Linked DNA regions of Homo sapiens: regions 2, 3, 4, 5, 6 and 7 are each linked to region 1. Evidence: promoter capture Hi-C in 16 types of primary human blood cells and fetal thymus (Javierre and others, 2016). All regions are on one chromosome and are shown on one strand. The core of a region is centred on a gene start or on the middle of the fragment in contact, and the rest is flanking DNA. Distances in the headings are between cores, read along the strand shown.

Region 1 (2,798 bases), core at 38-2,537:
AGGTTTGCTGAAAATCAACTGACAAAAGACAGATTGATAGGAAAAAACGCATACAAATTGATTTGATCGTAGTTTTACACGACACGGGAGCCTTCAGAAGACCCAAAGATAACAGGGGAAAGTGGGCATTCTTACACTTGGATATCAACAAAGTATGAACAGCTGTGTAGAAATATGACTGGACAACAGGGCGATCTAATGAAAATAGACTGAGTGGGGAAACCCAGCAAGGCCTCCCTGTCTAGATTCTTCTTGGCCTCTCTGAGCATTCGTCCTTTTTTTCTGGGTATGGGGGGCAGGACCCTCTCTGGAATGAGGATCTTACGACCTACAATCACACAAGGTAGGTCAGATAATTTCACTATGGCCACTTTTTACACAGAAAGGCTGAAACAATCTGAATACACAGCACGAAGGGATATTTTGATAATTCTTAGAGGTATCCAAATTGTTACTCAGCAAAAAAACAGGTCTCTTTCTAGGAGGGCATTCTGCTGCTAATAAATATGATATTCTTTGTATTTTTTCCCCAAAAAGAATTTGAGATTTGGGATTTAAGTTTATCTTTAGTTCCTCTACTCAATTCCGACCTACAGGGTCAGTGGTTACTGTAGATAAGAACAGCCCCATCCTCTCGATGCCCCCAGAGCAGGGGTGGAGGGTGGGTGGGAAGTGGCCAGAACTGGGTGAGCGCACCCTAGAGGCCTCCTCCTCCTCCCTATTCAGTTACTCCCCCTTTCTTCTCCAGATCTGGGAAGCCTTCCAGCTGGGGGCAGCAGGACAGCCTCCATTCCCCCCGACCCCGCCTCCCATCCCCGGGAGAGGTAGCGTTGGGAGAATGCCCTCCTAGAAAGAGACTTGGGTTTTGCTCCCTAGGAGCCCTGGAATAGCTTTGGCCAGAATTCCCTATCTCCCATTAGAACCTCTCCTTTGCGTCCTTTGTTAACCTCCAAGTCTACTTGGTGAAAACGCCCACGAAGAAGTAACAAGGACTTTGTTCCTAGTGTGCCAGGTTTGGGCACCAGTGCTGTAGTGGCTTTCTCTGCTGCTCCTTGTGCATCAGCAGACAGATGTGGTTCACATAGGAAGAAAGACTAACGTAGGCAAAGATTTGCTCTTTCTTCAGCAGCCCTAGAAAGACGGCGGCCTGGGTGATTCACCACTCCTTCCTCACGTCCTTGATTTTATTTGAACTGAGCTCCAGATGCTCCTCCCACCCTTTTCCTCTTGGAAGCCAAACCCCTTTGTAATCTGTATAAGGTCCACACCCCGGGAGCTGAGTGATTGCAGAAACTGGCCTTCCATCTCTCTCAGACACCAAGCTGCAGATCCAGGTAAGCAGCCCAAGAGGTGTTCTCAGGTGCCGCTTCTGCTTCAGGGTTGCAGAAGAGGGAGCTAGGGCCAGTCCACAGCACTGAGAAAGATTGGGTGATGCTAGCGCTGAAAAAATGTGGCCCAGGCAAACATCAGCTGGGGGCAGAGGGGTCAGGGTGGAACGTGCAGGCTGCAGAGCATCCATGGGACTGGAGAAGAAGGAGCCTCCAAATTGGGGGAGGCCAGCGTTTCTCTCTGGAATACAATGGAATCTTTTATGATGCCAGTGTCAGGCACTGGCCTGAGTTCCCTTATGCTCCAAGACAACAAGGCTCTGTCACCCATGGCCCTGGATGTCGGGGATACAATTTGGTTCATGATTTATTCAAACTGATGTTTCGATGAGCCATTTGAGCACTGGGTACAAATGTATTTTGGATCAAAGAAACTCCAGTATTCAAAGATAGGAACTGACAGGATTTTAGGTCACTTTGTAGGTCACCACCTAGAGGGGAGGAAGACCTCGCTTTGGAGAGTGGGAATAAAACGCTCGTGGAAAAGGGTACACGTGAGTGTCTCATTACACGAAAAACCTCAGGAAGTAGGATGGACGTCTTTCTGGCTGACCTGAAACAGAAAGTGTAAACCAGGCAAGCCATAGGTGGGAGCTGGAGTTCTTTTTCTAAGAGGGCTCTTTTCCTTCTCTCTCCTTTTCTCAATTAGGCTTTTCTGGGAAAGTGAGGCCACCATGGCTCTGGAGAAGTCTCTTGTCCGGCTCCTTCTGCTTGTCCTGATACTGCTGGTGCTGGGCTGGGTCCAGCCTTCCCTGGGCAAGGAATCCCGGGCCAAGAAATTCCAGCGGCAGCATATGGACTCAGACAGTTCCCCCAGCAGCAGCTCCACCTACTGTAACCAAATGATGAGGCGCCGGAATATGACACAGGGGCGGTGCAAACCAGTGAACACCTTTGTGCACGAGCCCCTGGTAGATGTCCAGAATGTCTGTTTCCAGGAAAAGGTCACCTGCAAGAACGGGCAGGGCAACTGCTACAAGAGCAACTCCAGCATGCACATCACAGACTGCCGCCTGACAAACGGCTCCAGGTACCCCAACTGTGCATACCGGACCAGCCCGAAGGAGAGACACATCATTGTGGCCTGTGAAGGGAGCCCATATGTGCCAGTCCACTTTGATGCTTCTGTGGAGGACTCTACCTAAGGTCAGAGCAGCGAGATACCCCACCTCCCTCAACCTCATCCTCTCCACAGCTGCCTCTTCCCTCTTCCTTCCCTGCTGTGAAAGAAGTAACTACAGTTAGGGCTCCTATTCAACACACACATGCTTCCCTTTCCTGAGTCCCATCCCTGCGTGATTTTGGGGGTGAAGAGTGGGTTGTGAGGTGGGCCCCATGTTAACCCCTCCACTCTTTCTTTCAATAAAACGCAGTTGCAAACACCTGATTTCTGAAGCGGTTCTGTCTAGG
Region 2 (2,700 bases), core at 8-2,507, 250 kb before region 1:
GAGTATACTATTTACTACCTACTAAAGGCAGCCAGGATAACATACACCGCATTGCTTATGGTTCAGGTCAGCACAGGGCTGTACAGCAGCAGCAGGAGGAAAGAGATGCTACCAAGCATCATTTAATTAGCATCTAAAATGTGCTCGGTACAGTTCTAGGTTCTTGGTGGAAAGTAAAGAACCTCATTTTAAAAGGTGCTTCACGAGCCAAAGCATTGTGCTTTGTGTACAACTTTATATATAAACTGTATTGTGTGTTCCACAATATTATCCCAATTTTACAGAAAAGGAAACTAAGGTTCTGGCAGGTTAAGATCCACAGATTTAGTAAGTGGCAGGGCCGGGATTTGAAATTCGGTTCTGTTTGGCTCCAAAGTTCATGTTATCTTTCCTTGCCACACTGCTTTCCTGTTTATTGATAATTCATTAACAGTTACAGACCCAAGCTGCCAGCCTTTGAAGTGACAGAGTGGGGATGGCAGCAGGAGCCCAGGGCTGGCCTAAACATTTCCTCCTCTTGTGGGCTAAGAGTCACCTTGTGTGCACTGGTATGGAGATGAGCCAGTCTTGGCTCTGATTGGTCAATGCCTGTTCCCACCAGATCACAAGAGAAGAAGACTGAATGCCATCTCTAATGTCTACTATGTTCTTGACACTGAACTCAGCAGTGTGTGTGTGTGTGTGTGTGTGTGTGTATTATCTCTTTTGTGATCAATCTATCTAAAAACATCTCCTTACTTATCTTGCAGCATCCCCATGAGATAGAAATATTTATGCTTATTTTGTAGGTAAGGAAACAATGTCTGTGTGTGTGGGAGTTGAGTAACTTGCCCACAGCCATACAGGAGTGAGTGACAGAGCCACTTCGATCTGATCCTCAAATTTACACTCTGTACACTGTGTCAGGCCGTGCTGCAGCTTTGTTTCATTTCAGAGCCAATTTTTACTGATCTTGTTTTTATATGGGGTTTCTGGTCACCCCTGAGAGTACAACTCAGACTACAATCAAAGTTAAAATAGTCTAGTGGTAAGAATACTGAACCAGACATGAATAGCCCTGAATTCTGGTCCCACCTCTTTCACTAATTAGCTGCATGACCTTGGGCAAGGCTCTTCACTAGCTTACATGGACCCAGTTTCATAGAATATCAAAGCAGGAAGGCACTTCCGAGTTCATTGAATCTTAGCTCTTGCTCTGATCAGAAGTGTATTTTTTTTTTCTTTTTTAAGGCAGGGTCTTGCTCTGTCACCCAGGCTGGAGTGCAGTGGCACGATCATGGCTCCCTGTAGTTTCTACATCCTGGGATCAGGTGGTCCTCCTACGTCAGCCTCCTGAGTAGCTGGGACTACAGGCCTGCACCACCACGTGTGGCTAATTTTTCTTTTTCTTTTCTTTTTTTTTCTGAGACGGAGTCTTGCTCTGCCGCCCAGGCTAGACTGCAGTGGCGAGATCTCGGCTCACTGCAAACTCTGCCTCCTGGGTTCAAGCGATTCTCCTGCCTCAGCCTCTTGAGTAGCTGGGATTACAGACACCCACTGCCGCGCCTGGCTAATTTTTGTATTTTTTAGTAGAGCTGGGGTTTCACCATCTTGGCCAGGCTGGTCTCGAACTCCTGACCTCATGAGCCACCTGCCTCGGCCTCCCCAAGTGCTGGGATGACAGGTGTCAGCCACTGCGCCCGGCCAAAGTGCGGCTAATTTTTCTATTTTTTGTAGAGATGGGTTTTGCCACGTTGCCAGCACTGGTCTCAAACTCCTGGACTCAAGTGATCCACTCGCCTCAGCCTCCCAAAGTACTGATATTACAGGTGTGAGCCAATGCACCTGGCAATAACGTTACCAACAGATGGTTTTTGGGCTTGAATACCTTCAGTGACATGAATCTTCACTACCTACCAGTTATATCAGGCACCCAGTTCTGTTGTCTGAGAATTCAACTTTTCTCAAAACCTGATTATCCCCTTGTAAGGCCCCTGTTTCTGTTTTTGGCGCTTCCAGTTGAAAATACTGGTCTCCTTTGACTGTTTCTAATCTTTCATCCCCATATCGATTAGTAGGCTAACAGACTGAATACTTAGCATGATCAAAGTATGGAGGGGCACTTGAGTCACTTAGTCTTATTGGTTCTCTTGTACGTATTTCTCTCCCTTTCCACTGCCTGTCTGGATGACTCTCACCACCTTCTAACTGCCTCCTTGCCTACCCTTTCTCCTGAGTTTAATTGAGCATGTATAATAATGTTGGATGGATCTTGTTAAAATATTCCTTTTCCTGCATCATTTCTCTAAAGATCATCTGTTTATCTCCAGTGGTTCTCTTGCTTGCAAGGTAACATCCAGCCTTCCCAGCCTGGAATCAAAGCCTTCTCCTACTCACCTTGCGTCCAGTCTACCCATTCCGTATGAGTGGCCTCCCTATCTTCCCTCCGAACACAAACTATTCTAACCAAATTCTATCCTAATAACCTGATTTTCCTTTTGTCTCCAGCACATGTTTTGCTCTCTTCAGCTTTGCTTCTGTTTCCCTCTTCCCTGCAAGTCCTCCCTCAAATATTATCCATCCTTTAGAACTCATCTTGACCATATGAGTTTGCTCAGGATCACATTTACGAACCTTGCCGTACAAATCCTAACCTCCTTTAGCATTAACTGTTTCATAGTATCACTCATTTGGGTTCTAAATCGTGTACTACCTTGTTTT
Region 3 (2,700 bases), core at 43-2,542, 180 kb after region 1:
TCCAGATGAGATTTTACAGTCACATTTATGTCTCTGTGTTTCAGTGCTAGTCTGATAAACATACCTGCTATGGTTTGAATATGGTTAATTTGTCCCCACTAGAACTCATGTCGAAATTTGATTTCCAATGTGTCAGTGTTGGGAGATGGGGCCTAGTGGGAGGTGTTTGGATCACAGTAGTAAATTCCTTATGAATGTCTTGGTGCCCTTCTCTCTGTAGTGTGTGAGTTCTGGCTCTGGTGAGATTGGATTACTTCCTTTGGGAATGGATTAGTTCCCTGGGAGAGTGGGTTGTTATACAGCCAAGAGGCCCTCACTTTTTTTTTTCTTTTTTTCTCTTTGTATGTGTCTGCTTCCCCTTTGACCTTCTCTGCCTTGTTTTGACCTAGTGTAGTGGCCCTCCCCAGAAGCCTGGCTGATGCTGGTAACATGCTTCTCCTACTTCCCAGGCTGCAGAACTGTGAGCTAAATAAACCTCTTTCTTTCTAAATTACTCAGCCTCATGTATTCTATTACAGCAACACAAAACGAACGAAGACAATACTCATTTGGCCAGGTGTGGTGGCTCACGCCTGTAATCTCGGCATTTTGGGAGACTGAAGCAGGCACATTGCTTGAGGTCAGGAATTCGAGACCAGCCTGGACAACATGTCAAAACCCCGTCTCTACTAAAAATACAAAAATTAGCCGGGCATGGTGGCATGTGCCTGTAATCCCAGCTACTCAGGAGGCTGAGGCAGGAGAATCGCTTGAACCCAGGAGATGGAGGTTGCAGTGAGCCGAGATCGCACCACTGCACTCCAGCCTGGGCAACAGAGATTCCATTTAAAAACAAAAACAAAAACAAATAAACAAAAAAAATCATAATACTCATTTAAATAACCCATAGTTTCTCTATGTGTTGACTTTTTTTTTTTAAATATGAAGATTCTCAAGTGATGGAAGTGGCCTGAGCTCATTTTGATCTGTTTTAGTGCCAGATCAGGCAATAAAAGGAAGCAGTCAACAGGAAAGAACCTATCATCACAGCAGAGCCCTCTTTGATCCTGGAATGCTGCAGGTTCAAATTCCTCAAACTGACAGGCGTCAGAGCACTTTCTTATCAAGAAAGTACCACACTCTCCTGTTCCTGGCTGAAGTTCCTTTGCTAACAAGTGGGCATAGCTTCTCCTATTCAATTTCCTATTCAGTGTTGCTGGAGTACCTATTTCCCACCTTGTGCTCACAGGATCCTTCAGTAGGGAGGGAGGAAACTTGGCCTGTTCCTTTCAAGAAGTGGATCACATGTTGGATTGCACAGCTCAAACAGTAAGTGCCCTGAGACCCATAAGCCAGGTGTCTTGGCTTTCCTAGTAGAATGCCAAATTTGCTGCATACTTGATTGCCCAATATCTAAAGCAAATAGATAACCACCCTTTTGGAAAGATGCCTGATACAAATACATGCAATGTGTTCGTCTGGCTGGCACATGTCTATTCCTTCAGTCTTCAGCACAGAATGCTGATATTCTAGGCTCTAGCATTCTGTAATATTGTCGGAGAGTTTAACCTTGAATTTCTTGCTATCCATACCTTGTTAATAGTTCAGATGATGAAAATTTATAGATAAGCAAGAGATTTACTTTAAGGCCTTAATATGCAAAGTGTGATTGGGGACCAGCAGCATCAGCATCTTTTGGTAGCAGATTAGAAATGCAGAATCTCAGGCCTACTGAATCAGAATCTTAACAAACTCCCCAAAAGTTAGAGTATGCATTAAATTTTGAGAAATACTCTATGTACCAACTTCTGTATCAGATGTTCTATGTTCATTTAGAGCATCTGAAAATTCCCACCAGAATCTTTCTGGATCAGTCTGCAGCAGAAGACACGCACTACATTGCAATGTAAAGCTCTGTTCCTAGCTCCAATAGAGAGCCATGCCCCAGTCTGGGCATGGTGGCTCATGCCTGTAATCCCAGCACTTTGGGAGGCCTAGGCGGGCGGATCACGAGGTCAGGAGTTCAAGACCAGCCTAACCAACATGGTGAAACCCCGTCTCTACTAAACATACAAAAATTAGCCGGGCGTGGTGTTGTGCGCCTGTAATCTCAGCTACTTGGGAGGCTGAGGCAGGAGCATTGCTTGAACCTGGGAGGCGGAGGTTGTGGTGAGCTGAGATCGTGCCATTGCACTCCAGCTTGGACAATAAGAGTGAAACTCTGTCTCAAAAAAAAAAAAAAAAAAAAAAGCCATCCCCCTATTGGCCTGAGGACCCCTCTATGTGCTGTAAAATCTTGCTCAAAATTAAATACTATATTTAAATTAAATAATATTTTTGATGACTCCATCAGATAGTCAATGCTTTCAGCATTTATTGAACCCGACTTACTTAGCTCTGATATGGTTTCATATGGTTATCACATTGACCATCACAGTAAAGCAAAGTACTGTGATTGTACTTAGAAGTTTTCTATGCAGTGGCTCACGCCTGTAATCCCAGCGCTTTGGGAGGCTGAGGAGGGCGAATCATGAGGTCAGGAGTTCGAGACCAGCCTGACCAACATGGTGAAACCTGTCTCTACTAAAAATACAAAAAAATTTAGCCAGGCGTGGTGGCACACACCTGTAATCCCAGCTACTTGGGAGGCTGAGGCAGGAGAATCGCTTGAACCCGCGAGGCAGAGGTTGCAGTGAGCTGAGATCACACCACCGCACTCCA
Region 4 (2,700 bases), core at 104-2,603, 170 kb before region 1:
CCATGCCCTGCTGAAAATCACATTTTAATATACTACTTTATTCAAGGAATCAGAGCAAAAAGAAAAAACAAGAATTACTTTTTTTGTTAACTCCATGAAAAATATGAGGAACTGTCCTAGTAAACAATTTTGTCATTTTCACAATGATGAGTATATAGAGCCTGCCTGTTCAGCCTCTCTTTTGAACAGAATTGGATAAATATGACCAAATCTTTGGCCTTGGGATTCATTTTTTTATACTGTCCTTGGGTCTTTTACTGTGAAAGCATTTTCCAGGTGGAATTTTTTAAGTTAAAGTTCAAGATAAAGCTGTATGTGAAAAAATGAAGCATGTACAGCTGATGGTAAGTGAGATAGCCGATGTTAGGGTATGCAGATACACATTTAAAGTGTTCGTTGTTATATATTTATTTTAATGTAAATGAATAATCAGTACATCAAATCTGTGGTTAAATGAAGAATTGTTTGAGCCCGGGAGGTTGAGGCTGCAGTGAGCTATGATCCCACTACTGCACTCCAGCCTGGGTGACAGAGCACGACCTCGTTTCAAAAAAAAAAAAAAAAAAAACATATCAGAGTCTGACTCACAGCTCTGCTATTCACCAACCTTGTGATCTCAGACTCAGCCCTTGTTTTCTCTTTTCTTTTTTTTTTCTTTTCTTTCTTTTTTTTTTGAGATGGAGTCTCGCTCTGTCACCCAGGCTGGAGTGCAATGGGGCGATCTCTGCTCACTGCAACCTCTGCCTCCTGGGTTCAAATGATTCTCCTGCCTCAGCCTCCCGAGTAGCTGGGATTACAGGCACCCACCACCACACACCCAGCTAATTTTTGTATTTTTAGTAGAGACGGGGTTTCACCAGGTTGGCCAGGCTGGTCTCAAACTCCTGACCTCAGGTGATCCACCCGCCTCGTTCTCCCAAAGTACTGGGATTACAGGCGTGAGCCACCACGCCTGGCGTTTTCTCTTTTCTACAAGGGAAACATTAAAACCCTGCATGATACGCAAACATAAGCCTGATGGTGGGTGACCTTAGATCGTGGACACAGACGAAAGCCTGTATCAGCTCTAGAAAAGTATGTAGAGTGTTACCTACTGGACCATGTTGTGAGGCTTAATCCCAATTACCTTATGTGAAATAGGTGTGCCAAAGAGGGAGTGGCTTCCTTATTTCCAACACTCCTTGCAAAACCATGAGGGATAAACATTTTGAATGATGCTGAGATATTTTAGGCAGTAAAGCACTCATCAAAGTTTCCTCTTAGGTTTAATGACTTTTAGGTCTCCTGTTTTCCTATTAGATGAGGTAGGTGAAGCTGATAGAGACAGCTAAGGATGGGAATGACTACATTACTGTTTGCTGATTGATATCCCCCAGTGTACTAACCTCAAACCTAAATAATCTCAGAGGTGTAAGATCATCTTACTGTCTTCTGTGCTAACATTTTCTCTTGCTCTATTGAAGAAGGGAAAAGAAATAGGGATTTCTGTGTTGACTGCAATGTAATAGTTAAATGTTTTTCTTGATAGTCTTAAGGTAGCAACAACAGCAATAATAACATACATACATACATGTATATATAGGACAATAATTTTATTTTAGTTAATCAGGTGATTTTTTTCTGGATTTAGGTATAGTATTTTAAGAAAAACAGATCTACATAGTAAAAAATTTCAGAAATGTAGATTGCATTTTCCGTAGACATTCCTCTACACACACACACACACACACACACACACACACACACACACACACACTCCTTATGAGGGCTTCAAAGAACTACAAGAGTCCGAGCTAGAAGGAATTTGTGAGGTCCTTTATTCCAAGCTACATTTCATAGCTGAGGACCAGAATGGTAGTCCTCATAGAAAATTAGTGCTAGAACTGGGAATTAAACATATAATTCCTTACTATTGGGATTCCCTTAGTACTATGTGGCAGTTAAAAAAATGAGGTGTGTCTGTGTGTAAGCTGTGGAGCTCTTCAGGAGAATGTGCAGACTCAGGGTAGAGCGGGGAGGCAATGGTGTTGGGTGCGTCAGAGGAAGAAGGATGTGACAGAGTGAGTTCCTCAGGTGAGTACTTGGAGGAGTGAGGAGAGATGGGGAGAATGTGAAATCCTGAGGATCTGGGGTCTGGGATCAGGGGAAGGGAGCTTCCTTTCATCTGAAGGATGTAGATGCTCTCCTCTCCATCGCTTCACTCCCTCCTCTAGAACAAATAACACAGCTCATATGTGGACCCTCTTTCTAATCATCTCCTGGACAAGATTCTCTTCTTCTAAGGCCCAGCACTTAGAAAACCTTCTCAGGCTGGGCATGTTGGTTCATGCCTATAATCCCAGCACTTTGGGAGGCCGAGGCGGGTGGATCACTTGAGGTCAGCAGTTGGAGATCAGCCTGGCCAACACGGTGAAACCCCGTCTCTACTAAAAGTACAAAAATTAGCCAGGCATGGTGGCACACACCTGTAATCCCAGATACTGGGGAGGCTGAGGCAGGAGAATCACTTGAACCTGAGAGGCAGAGGTTGCAGTGAGCTGAGATTGCGCCATTGCACTCCAACCTGGGCGACAAATCGAGACTCCATCTCGGAAAAAAAAAAATCTTCTCAATGGACTCCTCAGCTCCATCAGTAGGAGTTATGAGGGTTGTGGGGGCACTCCTTGCATTGGAAGTAACACCTCCCACCCCAACAGATTA
Region 5 (2,781 bases), core at 20-2,519, 190 kb before region 1:
TGCTGGCGTGGGCTGCAGCTTCCTGCCACATCCCACTGATTTTGGTCACACCCCCCATACCTGCCGTGCCGGCGGGCTGTGAGCACAGCATGCTGCATGTGCCCATCTGGACAGCACAAGTGACAATGCACATGGCGAGGCCGTTTAAGGACAGGCTGAGTGATACGGGGCCAGCGATGAGCCTCCTCTGGAGACCCCCGAGCAAGGATCACCATAGAGAACTTTTCTTCCTTTGGTTTCTTGTTCTAAGATAAGGAACATAGAGACTGTTTAGAAGAAAAAGATATGGGAAAAAAGTTTGTACAGTCCCTTCTTCCCCATTCCTGCAGTCCTTTTTTACAATGTATAAATCATATACATGTAGGCCCTAAAGTCTCCAGGCTATTCTACAAATTATCCAACTCCTCCTAACTCTGATTCTTTTTCTTCCTGTTTTTCCAGGATGTTTGCTTCCTGCTGCAATATCCCCAGGTACCTACCCAGCTGAAGGGGATGGGATGGTACGCCTGTGAGAAGCTACAGGCCAGGTTGGTCAACTGGGGACAAGGGAGTTCATGGGGACACTGTGAACACATAAAAAAATGAGGTAAGACAAAAGAGCCATCAATCACAAAACTTAAAAACTGAGAATAATAGAGTCAAAAGGGGCCAGGGAGAAGGGAGGACAGGAGCAGTGGGTAGGAAGAGCCAGGGGAATCATTAGGTAGGAACTGGATAGGAACACAAAGTAGTGGAGAGTGGCTTAGCTTTACCATCTTACATTTCCCGGCCACGCCTAAGTTCAGATCCGTGTGGTGGGACAGGCAGAAGTAATACTCACCGGGGCAAAGACAAAACCAGGTCGAGGGTCCAAAGGTGACTTCTCTTTTCCCTGAAATCAAAGGAAATAAAAGAAATAAAGCTGGGCCAAGGGTCTATTTTCATAATTCAATCTCTGCACTCAGTAAACTGAGGACTCCTTTAACACTCAATTCTAATAACGATTGACTATGTCCTTTGAATTAAGCTGGCTGCATCTTTAATACTCCAAACAAAGAACTTTCTCTTTGCTGCAGGAGAAAGGCAAGAACTTGGCACATAGTACGGTGCTCTCCCTTGTCAGCAACCTCCACTCTCAAAAAAATCCCACTCCAGGACAATTAAATTTATGATTATACACTGGCTCATACTCTCCCCCAGTGACAAGGTTCTTAGCTCAGCAATGCCCTAGATTAGGAGTCCGCAAAGTTTCTTTTAAAGGGCCAGAGAGTAGGCAAAATCTATCTCTGTCCCAACTACTCAACTCTGCTGTTTGTAGTGTGAAAGCAGTCACAGACAACAGAGGCACAAATAAGCATGGCTTATATAAAAACAGGTGGCAGGTCGGATTTGATCCACAGGCTCTCATTTGCCAACCACTGCTCTGTATCATAATGACTTCATACGCCCAGTTTCCTGAGAGCCACCCTTGTCAATACATGACAGTCTCTTTCGTTTTCAAGAGAGTAACAGTAATTGGTGCCATATGGGTGGGGGAGTGAGGGAAGAAGAAGCCTTACCTTAAGGACCAGATCCCTGGCATCCATGAGAAGGCTGTGCCCAGCTTTTGTTCCATTCTCCACCAGTACCTGTTCACAAAAGGGGAAAATATGCAGAAGACTTGAATTACACGAAAGTATAAATGTCAGTAGCTGTGTAAGAGCAATCATAGAGGGAGAAGGAGTCCTAAAAAGAAATAGGCATTACATAATCAGGATGGAGACCCTCAAAGAGGGATAAAGAAACCCATGAAGGAGAAAAATGGTGAAGAATAAAGACAATGAGAGGAGCAAAGGCATGAAATCCATGAAGCTGCTTCAAGACTTAAGGAGAACAAGGAATTTTAACTCACCAGGAAATGACCTGTCTTACGCCATAAGGTTTGAACTACCTCAGTGCGGTCAGCCTTGCTGGGCAGTTCACTTAAGGAAAAAGCTGACACTACTACATCAAACTGCACCTGAGGACCAAGACAAGGAACATGACAGACTCAACATCTCTACATCCCAAGAATACAACAAAGTCCTAGCCGCTAAATTTCTTTTATCTTCTAACACTCAGTGCTGGGCTGCAAAGCTCAAGCCATAGTTTTCCATCTGCCACATTCCACATTTAGAATATTCTAAACACTGCCACTTGCCTTGGGTGATACAGGTAGAAACTGTCTGAAAAAGACACCTGGAATATAAGGCTCCCCAGATTCTGAACCACCTGTGGAGAAAAGAAGAGGCAACTGTGAGTGTGTAGGAAGTTAGGTATAAACTGAAGAGATATCCAGATAAGAAACATGGCCCCAAGAATAGGTAAAGTGTATATCAAAAAGGGCAGGGATGAGCCAGGTATGGCGGTGCGTGCCTGTAATCCCAGCTACCCTAGAGGCTGAAGTGGGAGGATGGCTTGAGGCCAGGAGTTTGAGACCAGCCTGGGTAACATATGGAGACCCTACCTCTAATTAAAAAAAAAAAAAAAAGGGCAGGGAGAATATTAGGCCTCCTGTCCTTTGATTCTTACCCAACCCATCCTCAGTCCAGCAGAAACCTCTAATACCACCCTTTGCTTGACTATAACTTTAAAAGTAAACCAGATTCATCTTAATTTTTACCCTCTTCTCTACTTCCCAGTAAAACACTTTTACTAGTACCCCTTTGCTTTCTTAACTCCCTCAACTTTGGAAGTGCTCTTGCACTCACCTTTCAGTAGTTTTTCTGCCAAAACCAACATGGCAGCTGATCTGTCCACACACATATATTCACGTAGGCTCTG
Region 6 (2,747 bases), core at 1-2,500, 230 kb before region 1:
GACAACCAAAAATGTCTCCAGACATTATCCAATTGTCCCTGGAACTACTGAATTAGACATATGACCTTGAGCAAGCCACTGTCACTCTAGAACTTAGTTTTTCATCCCTAGGGAAATGCTTGTGTATGTAAAACCCGGTGTAATGGGGTAACAATCCCACTAATCTCAGGCTTACGGAGCACATGACACCATGATGAGGTTGTCAGAATGGATGAAGTAATCTTATGCATCAGCACCTCTAGGACAGGATTTTAGGGAACAGATCACCAGGATTGCAGTTGGGAAGCCGAAGGCTCATCATCATTAAATCATTTAAGTCCTGAATGCTTTCCTCTATAATGTGCTGTTCAGTTTCTGTAATTGTGCGGCAGAAGTGAGTGGTGTTGGGTGGGGGGAGCGAAGAGCGGTGATGGGTGGCTGGGGAATGAAGGAAGAGGAAGAACAAAAGGTATAAAAAGTCCCTTTCTATTCTCAGGGAAGCTGCAGCCTTGAGGGACCAGGGAAGAGGTGGCATGATTCAAGGCAGGGACCACAATGTGGTTGGCTTCCTCAAAGCAAAGGCCTGAGTCAGCCAGGCTCAGGCGACACCCTGCATTGGCACCCGCTCAGTGTTGTCTTGTTGAGCAGCCTGAAGAATACAGATGAGCCACCTGCCCATGTGGGCTCTATCCTCACTTGCTTGACGGTGCCCACTTCCTTGGCGAGGTCTTCCCAGCAGAGGCTTTCTAAGTGGGACCTCTGGGTTGAGTCTTTCTATGAGCTAGCACCATGGAATAGATGGGGGCGAGGAACGGTGCAGCAGCAGGGTTCCAGGTAGAGGAGACAGCAGCAGATAGGGCATAGAGGAGGTGGGGGACAAGGTGGGAAGCAGGCAGGGATGCAGATGCAGTTGTACACATGGGCAGGTGCAAGATCATGGGAAGTCTTATGTCCTGTGAGATGTAGTTTGGACTATACCCTACGACAAGCTTGTCCAACCCATGGCCCGCGGGTCACATGTGGCCCAGGATGGCTTTGAATGCAGCCCAACACAAATTCGTAAACTTTCTTAAAACATTATGAATTTTTTTGCATGTTTTAAGCTCATCAGCTATCGTTAGTGATAGTGTATTTTATGTGCGGCCCAAGACAATTCTTCTTCCAATGTGGCCCAGGGAAGCCAAAAGACTGGGCACCCCTACCCTATGAGAAACAAGCTATTGCAGACTTTTAGACGAAAGAAGGGATCACACTTTTTCTCTTGAAGTTGTATAAGAGATATATTTGAGTTGAGTCTTACTGGAGTTGGAGTGTGTGTGCTGTCCAGGCGAGACGAGAGCATCCACTGAGGAAGAAATAAGAATGGAAGAGATGGGCTTGGGAAAAGTTTAAGATTGTCAGGGCTGTGTGACTGATGGACTCAGGCTCATACTGAGGACTCACCATGTGCCGGGCACTGGTCTAAAAACTCTTGATATACATCTTAATGGATCCTCATACTGCCGTGAGGTAAAAAATACTATCCTCATGAACAGATGAAACAAGGAAGCTTTCAGTGGTTTCGTAAACAGATAGATGGTGTGCAGTTTGTAAGCTGCAGAGGCAGGATTCAATTCCTGGTCTGTTTCACTCAAAAGCCTTGATCTTAACCACCATGCAGGACCGCCTCCCCGTAGCTGGGATTGGGGAGGTGGAGGGGTCTAGGATCACTTTCAGGTTTCTTGCATAGGTAACCAGGGAAACTGAGTTGACAAAACAGGAAGAGAAACAAGTTATGGGGAGGATGGATTCCATTTTGGACTGTGGTTTGTGCTGTCAGAAAGTGCCAGTTTAGGGGGCTCTACATGAGGAACACCAATCTTTCTCTCTGCGGCCTTACTCCCTCCTCCTGAGCTATACTGAGGGTGTTGGAGCACTCAGCTTTCTGTGTTCTGACTCCCCTTTTCTGCTGCCCAGCAAAGGTAAAAAGGCTCTCCTAAGAGGAGGCCCCAAATCTGGAAGACACCTTGCAGACTAACAAGGCTGAGTGACCTGTGGAAGTCAAGGGCAAGAGCTAGCAGTTTCCAGGGAGCTGGCTCTTTGATTCTGATGAAAGGGAAGATGTTGATGAAAAAGATAGGAGCGTGGCCCTTTCCCCAGCATGGCAAACCACTCAGAGATCAACCAACAGTACGAAACGGATCATGCCAGGCTCTGGCATCCACAGCTTTTCATGTTCAGGTTATGCTTTCAAATCCAAACTGCCAAGTTTGAGGCTTCAGAGTCAGCATGCAGAGATTTCCAGTAGTGCTCAAACTCTGACAGGGCCTGAGGTCACAGGTGAAGGCTGTGGGTGTGACAGGAGTAAGGCTGATAGGGACCGTGGGGAGTCCACATGGAGGTCTTTGATTCTCAGCCCAGCACTTTGGTGGGAGGCCCCTGAGTACATGCCCTCCTGGGCTCCCGTGAGTGGGATGACAAAGTGGCGAATGCTCTGTTCTCTGAGGGTCAGGAATAAGAAGCACTTTGTTCCTCAGAAACATAACAGTGCTTTCCTACTCACCTTGCCACGAGAGCACAGGCTATGGAACAGAGAAAACATCAAAGAAAGCCCAGGCACTTAGGAACTTTTGGCAAGGAGATTGGAAGTAAGTGTTCCAATGACACTGTAGAGGAGGAGACCAGATAGTAATGCCTCTTTCCTCCCACCCATCCAACCCTCTTAGCACAGGGGCTCATCAAACTCGGGGACATTCCCTCCTCCCAGACTGATTTTTACCTAGAAACCT
Region 7 (2,835 bases), core at 320-2,819, 220 kb before region 1:
AGGTGGGGAGTCAGGCCCTGTGGGAGTCCAGGAGTGGGTCGAGCTTAGCGGGGAGGGGATAAGGCCATGCCCTGTTTCTCATTTCCTTCCTTCTGCTGTCCCTCAGCTTAACCACCCGGACACTGTTGAAGGTCTTGTCCTCATCAACATTGATCCCAATGCCAAGGGTTGGATGGATTGGGCAGCCCACAAGGTTTGGAGGGGCCTGTGTGCTGAGACCTACGGTTGGGGATCCCCTCGTATGGATCCAGTTAGGCTCTGGTAGATAGCCTAACTGGATGGACTCTGAACTTCAAGGAGGGAGTAAAGGGGCAGGAAAGTGAAGCTGTCACTTTGCCTGAGTCTCTTATAATATCCTGAACTTTCTTTTTCTTTTTCTTTTTTTTTTTTTTTTTGAGATGGTGTCTCACTCTGTTGCCAAGGCTGGAGTGCAGTGGCTTGATCTTGGCTCACTGCAACCTCTGCTTCCTGGGTTCAAGTGATTCTCCTGCCTCAGCCTCCCAAGTAGCTGGGATTACAGGCACCCGCCACCACGCCTGGCTAATATTTGTATTATTAGTAGAGATGGGGTTTCACCATCTTGGCCAGGGTGGTCTTGAACTCCTGACCTCGTGATCCACCCGCCTCGGCCTCCCAAAGTGCTGGGATTACAGACGTGAGCCACTGTGCCTGGCCAATACCCTGAACTTTCTCACCTGCCTTCTCCTCATAGCTAACAGGCCTCACCTCTTCCATTCCGGAGATGATCCTTGGACATCTTTTCAGCCAGGTAAGTGGGTGTAGGAGATGTAGAAGAGTCGACGGGAGCAGCAGGGAACTTGAATGCTTGGGCTAACTTCCTTAGCTGGGACAGGATTTGGGGAAGGAAGAAGGCTTACCTCTTTTCCTCCAGTAATTGTTGTTTTCTCTTTCCATCCCTAATTTTTCTCCTTGTTCTCTCCTTCAGGAAGAGCTCTCTGGAAATTCTGAGTTGATACAAAAGTACAGAAATATCATTACACATGCACCCAACCTGGATAACATTGAATTGTACTGGAACAGCTACAACAAGTGGGTGGGCTGTGTGTGTATGCATGTGAGAGAAATGCAGAAGCAGTAATTGGGCGTCATGGGGGAGGCACAGAGGAGGAGAGGGAAGTCTGGGTAGTGTGCAATGTGCAAGGAATGCAGCATTTAGTGTGCAATGGGGGCAGCTTCAGGACAGAGTCAGTGGGAAGGATTGCAAGGGGCTGTCCCCCTTCTCTTGTTTACCTCCTTTGGATTATTGGACTCCCAGAAGTAAGATGATCTTGTGTCCTGTGTCCTTCCTCCCCTTTTGTTGCCCTCTGACCAGGGATCTAGGGCACAAGTGACTATAGGGGCTGTGCTTGGGGCCTGCCTGCCCCTTTCTCCTTTGGTTTCCACCTTTAATAACCAAGATTTGACCGTAATTTTTAGACAAAGATAGTTCCATCATGGGAGAGATAGCTTATATCTGGTTAGATAGCATTGCCCACCTAAAATTCCTACTCTTTTAACCCCTTTCTAGCCGCCGAGACCTGAACTTTGAGCGTGGAGGTGATATCACCCTCAGGTAAGACTTTAAGAGATAATGCATTGCCTGTCTCCCTGGATCTTCCCTAGGAGCTTGTGTCCCTTAGAAGAAGGAGAATCTTTTGCCAGGGAACTTCCTTGTCATGTCCCACCCCATCCTATTTGGTAAATCACTTCCCTCTAGGTCTTCCCCCTTTGAATCCTCTTGGTGGCATCAGCAGGGAGACACAGAAGTGTCTTTCCTCTTTGGAGCCAGATATTTTTCCAGCTGCACTCCTAGGCAGAGGCCAGTGAGGGAGTGCCAGGGGCTCACTGCCTTCTCCCCAACACTGTGTCTTTAGGTGTCCTGTGATGCTGGTGGTAGGAGACCAAGCACCTCATGAAGATGCAGTGGTTAGTAGGGAATTTTGGGGTGAGTGAGGGAGGAGGGTTGGGGTCCTAAAGTGGTGGTCAGAAGAGTATCTTGCCAAGGGGATGTCCTGTTTGGCACAGGGAGATCAACTTTGGGGCACTAAGAATTTGATTCCTGGTAAGGAGGAACTGGGTAGGGAGCTGATAGAAAAGGGACTGGGGTCTGGGTTCCTGGGTCCCTTACGGGGGAGGCGCCACAGTGGGCGTGACCTCATTCATTCAGCCTCCTGCTTACTCCAGGTGGAATGTAACTCAAAACTGGACCCCACCCAGACCTCGTTCCTCAAGGTCAGTAACCTGTTCCTGGGCCCCCGTCCACAGTCATATATCCTCTCTACATGCAGCTGCTAAGCCTCCAGGGCCCGGCATGGGAGCAAATGGGGTGAACGAAGAACAAAACAAAGGGGCTAGAGTGAAGAAGCTAGGGAAGAGAGACCCTTTCCACCTCTCTGCATGGCTCATTTATGTGTGTTTCACTTTTTCTGGGTGGTGCTCTCCTGAACAGATGGCTGACTCCGGAGGTCAGCCCCAGCTGACTCAGGTGAGTGCCGCTGCCGTCCATGGGATGGGGAAGGGACATAGGATACCGGTGGCACTGGGCTCTGCCCTTTGCCACACACCCGGCCCCACAGTGCCGCAGCCTCAGGCTCCAGCTCTTCCTCTAACCTCATCTCACCGTCTCCCTCGCCTCTTCTTACTTCCGCAGCCAGGCAAGCTGACCGAGGCCTTCAAGTACTTCCTGCAAGGCATGGGCTACAGTGAGTATCGGGACAAGAGCTTGCTGCACTAGAGGAGAGATAGGCACTGACGGGGTGGAACCGTTTTAGGTGAATGCCTGGACTCACCGCTATCTGCCCAATCGAGCTCGTTGATCCCCTGGCTTAGTTATAA

Evidence for each region. The method cuts DNA at HindIII sites, captures the fragments that hold promoters and counts their contacts. A CHiCAGO score of 5 or more calls a contact.
Region 2: a fragment that was not itself captured here is called in contact with the fragment with the promoter of RNASE1 in region 1 in 1 of 17 cell types (M1 macrophages); the score reaches 5.0 in M1 macrophages.
Region 3: a fragment that was not itself captured here is called in contact with the fragment with the promoter of RNASE1 in region 1 in 1 of 17 cell types (M2 macrophages); the score reaches 6.7 in M2 macrophages.
Region 4: a contact is called between a fragment that was not itself captured here and the fragment with the promoter of RNASE1 in region 1, in 7 of 17 cell types (erythroblasts, M2 macrophages, monocytes and 4 more). The highest score is 8.2, in erythroblasts.
Region 5: a fragment that was not itself captured here is called in contact with the fragment with the promoter of RNASE1 in region 1 in 2 of 17 cell types (monocytes and M2 macrophages); the score reaches 5.9 in monocytes.
Region 6: a contact is called between a fragment that was not itself captured here and the fragment with the promoter of RNASE1 in region 1, in 2 of 17 cell types (M0 macrophages and M1 macrophages). The highest score is 6.2, in M0 macrophages.
Region 7: a contact is called between a fragment that was not itself captured here and the fragment with the promoter of RNASE1 in region 1, in 1 of 17 cell types (M2 macrophages). The highest score is 7.5, in M2 macrophages.

What each region holds. Positions count from the first base shown.
Region 1 is chr14:20,801,333-20,804,130 of GRCh38, reverse strand. RNASE1 (ribonuclease A family member 1, pancreatic) reads left to right here and starts at 1,287. Exons shown (of 2, transcript NM_002933.5): 1 at 1,287-1,334; 2 at 2,038-2,798. The coding sequence starts at 2,063. The coding sequence ends at 2,533. All of the region lies in intron 3 of LOC105370397 (a long non-coding RNA gene), which reads right to left. The HindIII fragment of the contact is 7,079 bases long and covers 1-2,798 here.
Region 2 is chr14:21,052,331-21,055,030 of GRCh38, reverse strand. It overlaps a transcript of NDRG2 not described here. Among named protein-coding and RNA genes, the nearest start is that of RNASE8, 4.1 kb to the left of the region's middle. The HindIII fragment of the contact is 3,933 bases long and covers 1-2,700 here.
Region 3 is chr14:20,619,622-20,622,321 of GRCh38, reverse strand. No RefSeq gene overlaps it. Among named protein-coding and RNA genes, the nearest start is that of TRL-TAG2-1, 4.4 kb to the left of the region's middle. The HindIII fragment of the contact is 3,271 bases long and covers 1-2,700 here.
Region 4 is chr14:20,973,014-20,975,713 of GRCh38, reverse strand. No RefSeq gene overlaps it. Among named protein-coding and RNA genes, the nearest start is that of METTL17, 16 kb to the left of the region's middle. The HindIII fragment of the contact is 5,961 bases long and covers 1-2,700 here.
Region 5 is chr14:20,993,991-20,996,771 of GRCh38, reverse strand. METTL17 (methyltransferase like 17) reads right to left here. Exons shown (of 14, transcript NM_022734.3): 7 at 2,709-2,781; 8 at 2,159-2,229; 9 at 1,871-1,978; 10 at 1,539-1,607; 11 at 821-871; 12 at 480-563; 13 at 61-245. It overlaps LOC101929718 (a long non-coding RNA gene), which reads left to right. Exons shown (of 4, transcript NR_110139.1): 4 at 442-935. Among named protein-coding and RNA genes, the nearest start is that of SLC39A2, 3.9 kb to the left of the region's middle. RefSeq lists an enhancer at 1-643. The HindIII fragment of the contact is 5,148 bases long and covers 1-2,781 here.
Region 6 is chr14:21,034,768-21,037,514 of GRCh38, reverse strand. RNASE13 (ribonuclease A family member 13 (inactive)) reads left to right here and starts at 2,708. Exons shown (of 2, transcript NM_001012264.4): 1 at 2,708-2,747. It also overlaps a transcript of NDRG2 not described here and a transcript of TPPP2 not described here. The HindIII fragment of the contact is 560 bases long and covers 971-1,530 here.
Region 7 is chr14:21,017,854-21,020,688 of GRCh38, reverse strand. NDRG2 (NDRG family member 2) reads left to right here. Exons shown (of 16, transcript NM_001320329.2): 8 at 107-193; 9 at 713-769; 10 at 947-1,050; 11 at 1,529-1,573; 12 at 1,875-1,926; 13 at 2,185-2,232; 14 at 2,450-2,485; 15 at 2,651-2,702. Among named protein-coding and RNA genes, the nearest start is that of MIR6717, 4.1 kb to the left of the region's middle. RefSeq lists an enhancer at 1-1,174. The HindIII fragment of the contact is 4,424 bases long and covers 1-2,835 here.